Regions from separate parts of the Homo sapiens genome. Here regions 2, 3 and 4 are each linked to region 1. Evidence: promoter capture Hi-C in 16 types of primary human blood cells and fetal thymus (Javierre and others, 2016). All regions are on one chromosome and are shown on one strand. Each heading gives the region's core, a stretch centred on a gene start or on the middle of the fragment in contact. The rest is flanking DNA. Distances are from core to core; before and after follow the strand shown. Region 1 holds the start of TLL1 (tolloid like 1). Region 2 has its middle 110 kb from the start of LINC01179. Region 3 has its middle 73 kb from the start of LINC01179. Region 4 has its middle 130 kb from the start of MIR578.

Evidence for each region. Contacts are between HindIII fragments. The CHiCAGO score rates a contact against its expected background, and 5 or more counts as called.
Region 2: a contact is called between a fragment that was not itself captured here and the fragment with the promoter of TLL1 in region 1, in 1 of 17 cell types (endothelial precursors). The highest score is 6.5, in endothelial precursors.
Region 3: a contact is called between a fragment that was not itself captured here and the fragment with the promoter of TLL1 in region 1, in 1 of 17 cell types (endothelial precursors). The highest score is 8.5, in endothelial precursors.
Region 4: a contact is called between a fragment that was not itself captured here and the fragment with the promoter of TLL1 in region 1, in 1 of 17 cell types (endothelial precursors). The highest score is 9.1, in endothelial precursors.

Annotation. Positions count from the first base shown.
Region 1 is chr4:165,871,792-165,874,661 of GRCh38, forward strand. It overlaps TLL1 (tolloid like 1), which reads left to right and starts at 1,446. Exons shown (of 21, transcript NM_012464.5): 1 at 1,446-2,282. The coding sequence starts at 2,114. The HindIII fragment of the contact is 7,346 bases long and covers 504-2,870 here.
Region 2 is chr4:165,573,362-165,576,111 of GRCh38, forward strand. No RefSeq gene overlaps it. Among named protein-coding and RNA genes, the nearest start is that of LINC01179, 110 kb to the right of the region's middle. The HindIII fragment of the contact is 1,839 bases long and covers 556-2,394 here.
Region 3 is chr4:165,610,428-165,613,340 of GRCh38, forward strand. No RefSeq gene overlaps it. Among named protein-coding and RNA genes, the nearest start is that of LINC01179, 73 kb to the right of the region's middle. The HindIII fragment of the contact is 1,033 bases long and covers 963-1,995 here.
Region 4 is chr4:165,515,856-165,518,763 of GRCh38, forward strand. It overlaps the pseudogene SCGB1D5P. Among named protein-coding and RNA genes, the nearest start is that of MIR578, 130 kb to the left of the region's middle. The HindIII fragment of the contact is 3,359 bases long and covers 1-2,908 here.

The DNA.
Region 1 (2,870 bases), core at 196-2,695:
AAATCAAACGCCTCTACCTGCTTATTGAACATGTTCTTTTTAAAAATCTACTTCTGCTCTGTATCCTGGGCATTAAAAGCTTAAGATCTATGGAAGGGAAGCTCCATCATTGCAGTGGCCTCTGAGAAAGACCCAGTTTTGCAAAGAACACTTGGTCAGTTCAGTTCCACCTAGCCTTCCTATACTTTTAGTTTAAGTTGAAAATACTTGGTACTTTTTCAAGATTGGCTTCTTACTTTTCTCTAACAAACATGAATAAAACCTAGTAAAATCTCCAAACCAAAGATGACTTTATCTGTCAAAGTTGTGTGTGTGTGTGTGTGTGTGTGTGTGTGTGTGTGTGTGTGTTTACCTTCATACATTCCTCTAGATGATAACTTGGATAGGGGGAACACTAGTCAAATAATATGTAAGGCTTTTTTTTTTTTTACAAGTCCTTGCTAAAGTGACAGTTTTAAAGATTTAGTTGGAAAAGGAAAGCTCCCAATCACCAGTCCCTTGGAAGCTTGTTGGGGGAGAAGTCATCTCACCTATTTTGGAAACTACTTGCAGATGTGGGGAAACCTCGGAATTGCTCACAACAGGGGTTTTACAGAGATTTCCTCTGATTTTTTTCCTCCCCAATTTCCCACAACCTGTGTTTGTCTTGAGTCTGCTCGGCTGACATGTGGTTTACCTCGCTGACCCTCCTGCCAGGTTTTACACCCTCTCCTCTGAAGAAGTAAAACATTACTGAAGCCGAAGGATACTGAGCAACTCTGCTCATGGGCGCCAGAACTGTCACAGAAAATTTGCTTCCCGAGTATTCCATCCAGCTTCCCTTCCTGCGCCCACGTGAGCCATAGCGCCAGCCCATCGGCAAGGTCTCAGCGTTTCCTGCTGCTGCAATCTGTAACTCGATTTTGGATTTTTTTTTTAATTGCAGTTCTGAGGATCTTAGTTCTTAGCAAAACTTTGTTGGTTAGGAGACCAACAGTAGTCTGTTTATTTTCTTACCAAAATCGTGAAGACTCGCACACTTTTCCTCCATTCCTGCGCTGCTCTAAGGTTAAACAGCAGCAAAGGAAAGAAATACACACTCGCTGTTTATTTGGGGGGAGGGGAAATATGGATTTGCAGCTAAGTTATCACGATCCTTCGCTCCACCCCCGGTCTGGCACTCTCAACTGACACGTACATCATCTATTAATTGCTGTTTGCGTACACAGATACATAATATATTCATTTTTATCTTTGGTAAAATATAAATGGAATTGTCAGCGCGCTCCTGTCTGTTTGTTTGTCTAAGGCTATCAAAAGAAGTCAAGAGAGGAGGCTGTGGTCCGGATCCTGACCCTGATTGTATGAATAAGTAAGCAGGATGCAAGTGATTGGGTTAGATGGTGCGAATATTTTTTTTTTTCAAGTTAGGAAGAGGGTAAAAAGACAGGCTGGCGGGGGGAAGGCAAACAGTGCATCCCCAAATCCTCACACTTTTGCTCTCTTGCAGTCAGTTGCTTTGCTGGCTTCTGCAGGCTTTTAAGGTCTCGCGGCGTAGAAATGCCTGGCCCCCACCCCCTTCCTCGGTCTCCCCTTTCAATTCAGATGTGCTGATGTGCAGACCGGATTCATCTTCTCGGAGCTGCGGCGGCGGCTTTGGGCTCAGGCGGCGGCGGCTCGCGCTCGGCCGCGGAGTCCTGGCAGCAGCGGGGACGCGGCGCGGGAGTCCGAGCTCTGGTGGCAGCTGAGCCCGCGGGGCGCCGCTCGCCGAGCCGCGGCCGCGGGAAGTTCGGCAGCCAGAAGGACGACCTGGCAGGCTGCGAGCGCCAGCGCCGCCAGAGCCGAGTTTGCCTGCGCCCTCCCCGCCTCCGAGTGCAGAGTTCCTTACCTGCCCTCCGCCCACCCGTGGGCCCCTAGCCAACTTCTCCCTGCGACTGGGGGTAACAGGCAGTGCTTGCCCTCTCTACTGTCCCGGCGGCATCCACATGTTTCCGGACACCTGAGCACCCCGGTCCCGCCGAGGAGCCTCCGGGTGGGGAGAAGAGCACCGGTGCCCCTAGCCCCGCACATCAGCGCGGACCGCGGCTGCCTAACCTCTGGGTCCCGTCCCCTCCTTTTCCTCCGGGGGAGGAGGATGGGGTTGGGAACGCTTTCCCCGAGGATGCTCGTGTGGCTGGTGGCCTCGGGGATTGTTTTCTACGGGGAGCTATGGGTCTGCGCTGGCCTCGATTATGATTACACTTTTGATGGGAACGAAGAGGATAAAACAGAGACTATAGATTACAAGGACCCGTGTAAAGCCGGTAAGTGGCTCTCCAGGTTGGGACGGTGGCGCGCCGGGGGCCGCTGCGCTGGGTTTCCCATGGGTGGCGGTGGGAGCTCACCTGTTTCCTTCCCTCCCGCGTCAGCCCCTCCGCCGCCCCTCCTTCTCTCCCCCTCCTTTTCCTTCCCTTCCCCACCCGCAAGTGGCAGCCGCTGCGGCCCCAGTTGACTAGAGTTCTGTGCCAGTGGGATCCACTGCCAAGCTCCCATCTCCCAGTTTGGGAATAAGGTCCTAGAGTTTCTGATCCCTCTCCCCTCCCCCAGCAAAACGAAACAAGTCGTAAATATAGCTTGCTGCTGTAGGTTTTAAATTCCAACACTCAGCGGGCTTTATGCATATGGAAGGGACACCGTCTTCTTTCCCCTCTCCCCCAGGGCGCGGTTTCCCAGCGCTTGTTCGAGAGCGAGTTGGCAGGGTTCCCCAAAAGATACAGGAGGATGGCATTGCTACCTGGAGACACCTTGGCTCCCTCTTTTACCAGGAATTTCAAGTGTGGGTTCCAGGCTAGAAAGGGATTGTGACAATCTCGGAAGAACTCACTTCTAGATGGGATTCTGATGCATTTGCC
Region 2 (2,750 bases), core at 225-2,724, 300 kb before region 1:
TTGGTTCAGGGATAAACCTGTAATGCATTCAGATCTAAAGAGATACTAGGAGATGTTTGCTGAAAAGACCAATATTCTCCTGGATGGTCTGATTTCAGGATGTGAGCTCTGGAACTGGAAGCTATTGTGCTACCCCAAGAGCCAGTCCAGGTGTGAGTGCAAGAAAAAGCATTTGATAAAACCTGAGGTTGACACCAACATGGCAGAAAAAGAATGGAGAGGAGAAAATTTGGGTTCCCACTGACATGATTTGAACTACTGAATTAGGACTCAAAGCTATATAAAAATGAATAGCCTTAGAACACAAAGCTGCATCTGGAGTATTTAGTTACTTGAGCTAATACATTTTTCTTATTATTTGAATATCATGGCCCTAAATCTAGGGTCTATTTTAGTATTTAAGTTGTTGTTTGCCAGCAAAAAATGGATCATCTCAATTATTTATCAACAGTAGAAAGAACAAATAAAATTGTGAGATATTTATACAAAGAAAATTATATGGCAGTAAAAATGAGTAGCCTAGATGTAAAAGAGAGATAGATATTAATGAGGAAAAGCTTGGTTAGTAATAAAAGAGAAGACACAAAACTGCTATTCAAACATTTGGAAGGAATATGCAAAAAGCTGTGGAGACATTTTCCTCGGAACAGGAGAAGGCAATACGGCACAAACATGAGGAAAGCAAACTGTTATTTATCTATTAACTTAAAAAAAAACCCCACATGTTTTCCTTCCAATATTTTGGGCACAGCAGCAATTCAAAGGGGCTGCTGAGAATTCTTTGTAATTCTTACCTTCTTTGAATTACCACCCCTAACCAACACTCCTAATAGGCTTTATCAGTTTATAACTTTAAAACTATTGATTTGAATAGCTCCCACGAAGGCTTAATGTTGTAAATTATCTTTGTTCGAGAGCAACAAGGTAAATAAAAAGTTATTTTCCCTTTCTTGTAAGTTATTTTACTTTTCTGAAATAAGGAATAAAGACTCCTATGTGGATCTTCCAGTTAAATATGATGGGTTGTTTGCATTCATTTACCTCTGTTTCCTTCTGAAAGCCCATTAAAATGACAGCAGAGCAAAATAAGTAAAGTAGAAATTCGCCAGGCTGGGCACGGTGGCTCACACTTGTAATCTCATCACTTTGGGAGGCCGAGGCAGGCGGATCACGAGGTTAGGAGATTGAGACCGTCCTGGTTAACACGGTGAAACCCCGTCTCTACAAAAAATACTAAAACAAACAAAAAAAAAATAGCCGGGTGTGGTGGCGGGCACCTGTAGTCCCAGCTACTCTGGAGGCTGAGGCAGGAGAATGGCATGAACCCAGGAGGCGGAGCTTGCAGTTAGCTGAGATCGCGCCACTGCACTCCAGCCTGGGCGACACAGCGAGACTCCGTCTCAAAAAAAAAAAAAAAAAAAAAAAAAAAAAAAAAAAGAAATTCACCAAAGACAAAAAAGAACCACACACAACATATGAGAGATGTCAACCAAATTTAGGAAGTTGCAAAGCAAGTGTGGCAACATTACCATTGGAGAGGATGAAGAACACTGGGAAGTGAATGTATTTTGGGGGAATGTAAATTGGTACAACCCCTGGACAACAATTTGGAATTGCCTAATAAAGCTGAAGGTACAAATTCACACAGTCCTATAATATTATGTCTAATTCTTCGGAAAAATTCTTGCAAGTGTGCGCCAGAAGACATGCCAGCAAATACTGGATCAACTCAATTTTGCATCAACAGTCAAAAGAACAAATAAATGAACTCCCAAATATAAATGGCATAATTCCATATATATATATATGAATAACATACTTCTTTTTTTTTTTTGAGACAAAGTTTCGCTCTTGTCACCCAGGCTGGAGTGCAATGGTGTCATCTCAGCTCACTGCAACCTCTGCCTCCTAGGCTCAAGAGATTCTCCTGCCTCAGCCCCACCTAGTACCTGGGATTACAGGCATGTGCCACCATGCCTGGCTAATATTTGTAATTTTAGTAGAGACGGAGTTTCACCATGTTGGCCAGGCTGGTCTCGAACTCTTGACCTCAGGTGACTGCCTTGGCCTCCCAATGTGCCAAGAGATTACAGGCATGAGCCACTGTGCCCAGCCAACACTATACATATAATATTATATATATATAAACACAATATATATAATATTATATATAAACTCTATATAATGTTTATATGTAATATATATTAATATATATAATATATACTGTTAAAAATTAAGTAGAATTAAAAAGTATGTTATTTAGCAGTAACATGTATAGTGTATGCAGAGACACTATATGAAGAAGCAAGGTCATGATGAGCACAAGCCATTGACATGATAATTATACTCAGAACAGAAGAAGGGGAAGTGACTGGGAAGGGACTCTCCAAGGAAAGCTTCAAAAAGCATCAGTAATGCTCTGTTTATTAGGCTGAGAGGCAGGTACATGTTTATTTTTTTAAAAAATAATAGTTCCTATATCCATAATTTTCTGTGTGTGTGCTGTATTCGCCCTGCCTCCTCCAAGAAAGTTGTGTGGTAAATGGCTTGGGGAAGCCAACAAGAAACAGAATGATTTACCTATCAGGACCCCAGAAAAAGCTCTGGAATTTCAGGGACCAGATTCCTCTGAAAGCATGAGTTTGACCGGTAAGAAGGAAAATGAGAAGATTAAGAGTCTGTATAAAGAACATGTAAATCTGGGTTTTTAAAAATACTTTTTAATTTTTGTGGGTACATAGTAGGTGCAT
Region 3 (2,913 bases), core at 229-2,728, 260 kb before region 1:
TGACTCTAATCAACAAGATAAGGAAAATCTGGAGCAGGGTAATGTGAGGATAAGTAAATCAGTTCAATTTCTCTGACTGCTTGAGGACCTATCACCTTCCATAGAAGGGAGGTTATCAAGTTAAAAACAATTTCATGTAGCCATTTTGGGGTGCTATATATTTAATCTGTCCTTTTTAATAGTAGTTAAGAGTGTAAACAAAAGCAATCAAAGTAGCACCATTATCTGTCATCACTGCTATCACTTATTCAAAGAAGTCCACTCAAGTACTTCTACCTTAGATGCTAAACGAATTAGAGATTTACATGGCAACTTTAATGAAAACGGATACTTTGACAATAATCAAATTGACTGCAATAATGAAACTGATAAGAACATCACTTAAATAGAAGAATACATTAGATGTATATTATAGAGGTTTCAGTTTCATTTTACATCATTGAGCTCTTCACATCAGGGAGTTTATAGTAGTTCTGTGTCTACTATTATTAAGGGAATAACCCTGTTGGTGATGCCAGCATTTCAAAGCTGCTTTTGTGACCTGTGTATCTTCACCTATTGTTGTTGTCTTTTCTGTGTTAGAGAGTGTGCTCAGACCCCTTTTCAGGTTCATTCAATCTCTATTCAATTCCAGTTCCTCTAACGAGGCTTTGCTGCTTTTGCTGTGAATCCTTAGACATTCACGAGCCCTTTGTCCTGTACTTTTTATTTCTGGTTGACTTTCTTCTTTGGCGCTCTCCTTTTCTTGCAGCCTGTTCATGCTCTGTGTCCTGCACGACAATAAAATCTTTCACATTTCTTTTCCCTGCAGGCTGCCCTTTCCAAGCTTTACACTATGTACTGTTGTCTTTTTATTCTCTCATTCTCTTTTCAGCTTAAGCCTGCACATAACTCTTTCTGGTGCTACTGCTATTTCTCTATTCCTCACCACACCTAATTTATGCTGACAGCATTTATATGAAAGCTTACACACTCCATGCATCTCTGTCATCCTTTAGTTTATTTCTCATTCTGTGATGGTGAAAGGATTTACTTATTTTCCCTGAGGAAACACTGTTTTTTTTGGGAATAAGACTGGTATTTGACAGGAGTCCTGAGGAGCTCATGCTCCCAAGAGACAAGCAAACAAATAAGTAAACAGCAGACACATACAAACGTTTTTCTAGGTGGCATTTAAAATTTATTCTTTTATTTACAGCATTTCAAAGCTGCAGCGAAAGCACTATAAAAAACATATAAAACAAAAAGACTTGGACCTCCTACCTCTGGGAGTTGAAAGATTTCTTCATTCCATTTACGCTTGTCACATGGCTTATAACATTCTTCCAAAGACATAATATTCAACTGAAAATGTGACATGAGGTCATAATATCTTGAGTTAATGCAACACTTTTGTTGTATATAATATAGGTGTTTGTTCTTCAATTTTGAAAAGTACCCAACTTCTTTTGTCTGCAATAAATCATTACCCTGTAAACTTGAAGAGTTTAATATTTAAACTCTTCAACTTAGAGTTATTATTAATTAGGTCAATGGCTCTAAAACATTTATGTGGAAGAAAATGGTCCCCTTTCATAGGTAGCAGGAGCTGTTGACAGATTCCTCTTAGTCAAATATATTATAAACTTGGATGGTAAATAAATGAGTAAACGCTAACAGCATGAAGCAAACTTGCCAATGCATTTTATTCTGATCTGTGGGTTATTTAGGACCCAATCTTTTTTCTTTTTAAGAAAAACTGTCCATCAGATTCAAATACACAATGGCTAATGTGGATAAAAGACCATCAGGCATTTATATGAAACCACATGACATCTTTTCACCAGTCATCTCAATTTGAAATTTGAATTTAAACTCATCAAAGAAAAAAAAACCCTATTAACACTTTGCACGTTATCTAAAGAAAGATTCAGTATTTAACTTTTTCTGACAGTAGAGCAAAAACATTTAAATATATGTCAGATGGATGTGGAGTATTTCAAAAGGACGAACAAAAGCTTTAATCCCTTTGTGAACTAGGAAGACAGATACACTATACGAGGAAGACTGCACAGGAGACCAGGAGAGAGACCACCAAATATGTGGTCTCAATCCAGTCCGTTAGAATGTAGCGGGCAGCTTGTCTGTTAATTTCTTTTCTCTGAGCCTGGGTCACCTCCCACAAGGTTTACAATAACAGGAAATCCCAAACCAGCTTCTGAACAGTTACTTTCTTCAGACACATGCTAATTTATTACAGAGGATTTAGAAGGTATTTCATGGAAGGAGTGATATGTTACTTTAAATTGCAAAACTGTAACAGAATAATGAACGTCACATTAGTTAAATAAGCATGGTGCGGTAAGCAAACGAGCATGACACTGGCAGAGGAATCACTTTTTGTAGCATGTGGCGTCTCACATTGCACTTGTTGTTCATGACATTTAAGTGAATATATATTTTAACAAAGGTCCTTTTATGTGCACACACATGAAATACAGTAGGCACTCAACTATTTGTTGAATGAAAATAGCAGTTCATTATGTATAAAGAAAAAATTGGTCTGATATCATCAGAAACTGAGTTTATCAATGAGTACTTTGCTGTGAGGGGCTGAGTTGTGCCTTGTAGGTTGTGTAACAGCAACCCTGGCCTGTAGACCCACCAGTTGCTAGTAGCAACTCCCCCTGCTGTGACAACCAATAATGTCTCCAGACGTTGCCAAATATCCCCTGGGTGGCCTATCTCCTCTGGCTGAGAACCACTGATGAGAAAGGAAACTACAATTAGCATAACTGAGTTTTGCCTACATAGCTTTCTGTTTTCTAGTCTAGTTTAGGGATGAATGAGAAGGTTCACTTTCATTTTAACTATAGTAAATAAATGTATGTGTATTAGTTTCCAAAGGCTGCTGGAATGAAGTATTAATACCAC
Region 4 (2,908 bases), core at 199-2,698, 360 kb before region 1:
TTGAGTGGACTTGGCAGTCTGAAGGACCATGTCCTCCAACTTTGCAGTTTGGCTAACTGTAAGTAAGTCACCTGTTCACAATCACCAGAGCCTGAGCCAAGAATAGAACTCATATGATTGTAACACAAATACATGTAAGTACATTTATAACACAAAATGCTCTCACTAGCCATGTCCCAACCAGTGCTCCAACCTGCTGGAGCATCTCTCAGTGGAAACAATGGCAAACAGAGCATCTGGAAAGTGGGATGTCCGCAGTGGGAGGAAATACGGAGGGAGCCACCAGTGGGATGAAGCAGCAGGACCAGGTGGGAGTAATTGGGAGGTCTTGGGATTGGATCAGTTGGCACATGGCGGGAGCAAGATCTGTAACCTTTATACATCTGCAGGGAAGCCCTCAGCTCTACTGAAGTAGTGCTTCCATCCATCAAAAGCACAGGTGATGAGGCTCTCTCTAGCATTTCATCCAAGAGCTCTTAGGCTGATGTATGGCAGTCCAAGACTTCAGCTTGGATTCAGTCCCATTTCCGTAGGTTTCTGGCCTATGCCAACCCAGTAGGATGAGCTAAGAGATTACAAGATCACACCTACCTTTGCTCCACAGATCTGAAATTGTTGTTTTCCTCTTGAAATTTCAAAATTCCAGGAAAAGGAGTACAGCTGTAAAAATAATAGAGTGCTCACCTTGAAGCTGATGGCAGATGTATTATAACACAGTGAAGCAATCATCCAACACGTTTCATATTGCAAAGTGCCCAGGAGCACCGTGAGGATTTGTGTTCAGTCACGCCATCCGTTCTCTTCAAAGAGAACAACAGAAGCAATCTTAATCCCCCGTAAAATCTGCTATAATGTTCTGTTTGACTTTAAGGCTTTTTCATAACTGTCAGTTTAACTGTTTCAACTCACTTGAAGAGTCAATTTAGTCCAGCAGACTGGCTCTATGAAAAGCAATTGAAATTAGTTATTTGGGTACATTATCAGGTCAAGGGCATCTTGAAACTGTCAAGTTGGCTGTGTATATGGTTAGGGGGCTTGGGGAAAGCATGGAGGAAAGTAGATAATTAGGCACCCACTATATACCAGGTATTTTTTCTACTTCATTTAATCTGCACAACATACTGCATAATCCCCATTTTATAGATGACAAAACTGAGGCTCAGGGAGATTAAGTAATTCTCTCAAGGTTGTAAAAATGGCAGAGACAGCAGTAAAACCCAGACCTTTCTGCTACCAAGTCTCTCTCTCTATGTATCTATTTTTGCAGGGCAATAATTTATTAAAGCAAGAAGCTGAAACCTTTGCATTCTGCAGTGAGGATCAGGGTATCACTGAAAGACAGTGGAAACCAGGATAAAAGAGTTTTTACACCTCAGAGATTAAATTTCACCAATATTTTCACCAATATTTTTAAAATTAAGAGTCTGTTCCCAAGGGACATCTTGTCTGTGCGTTTCTTCACTGCCATCTTGGCAGCAATAGCTTCCAGAAGTGCATTAAGATTGGCAAGTTGTAACTTGAACAGAGGATCCTGAGTGAATAAGAAGCCTGTGATTTTAGTAGCAAGGGCTGGACAGAGCACTGCATTGGCCTCCTAGCAGCAAAAGGCCAGAATGAGTAGTAGGAGGCAGACTGACAGCCTCATGGCATCTTATTTTGCTTTGTCTGCTACCAAGCCTTGATCTCCCCAGTATTCCACATTATCTACCTGTTAGAAATATAATTCAGAGGCCAGATGTGGTGGATTATGCCTGTAATCCCAGCACTTCGGGAAGCCGAGATGGGTGGATCACCTAAGGTCAGGAGTTCAAGACCAGCTTGGCCAACATGGTGAAACCCCATCTCTACTAAAAATGCAAAAATTAGCTGGGCATGGTGGCGGGCACCTGCAATCCTAGCTACGTGGGAGGCTGAGGTAGGAGAATTGCTTGAACCCAGGAGACAGAGATTGCAGTGAGCTGAGATAGCTCCACTGCACTCCAGCCTGGGTGGCAGAGAAAGAGTCTGTCTCAAAAAAAAAAAAAAAGAAATATAATTCAGAAATATATTACACCACCACATTATCCTAGGAGAATGTTAACTTAAGAATCTAAGTATGAAATTCTGAGGTATGACCTACACTTTAGCTCTGATTTATGGTGAGGAGCGTGTGTATATTTTTTCTAATGGATTGGTTAATTTTTCCCTGATCTTGTTGAAATGGCTAGGACTCAAATAAGTTTAACAAATGTTCATGAAACATAGTTTGTCTAACCATTCTCCTTTTCATGGGAAAAGATTGATTTGTGTGTGTGTGTGTGTGTGTGTGTGTGTGACAAGGTCTTACCCTGTTGCCCAGGATGGAGTACAATGGTCTGATCACAGCTCACTGCACCCTTGGGCTTAAGGGCTCCTTTCACCACAGCCTCTCGAGTAGCTACAACTACAGGCACACAGCACCATGCCCAGCTAATTATTATTATTTTGTGTGTGTGTGTGGAGATGGAGTCTCATTTTGGTGCCCAGGCTGGTCTCAAACTCCTGGCTTCAAGCCATTCTCTCACCTTGGCCTCTCAAAGCACTGGTATTACAGGTATTAGCCACTGAACCTGGCCTGGAAAGACTGATTTTGTAACCAATGTTTTTGTAATCAATATGTTTTTCCTTTTCTAGGAAAGATTCCAATTTATAAAATGCAATGAAAGTCATCAATTAGTTTACTCATATTTCCTTTATCTCTTATACAGTTACACCCAGAATTGTGTTATACTATCTCTTAAATATATACACATTATATTATAATATGCTCAATATTTTACTTTGAAATGGTCTCTGCTATATGATGTTTGGTTGTGTATTAGTCAACTAGAATGGCATGCTAGATTTGGCACCAATTAATTCTACTACTTAGACCTCAAGTTAGATTTTA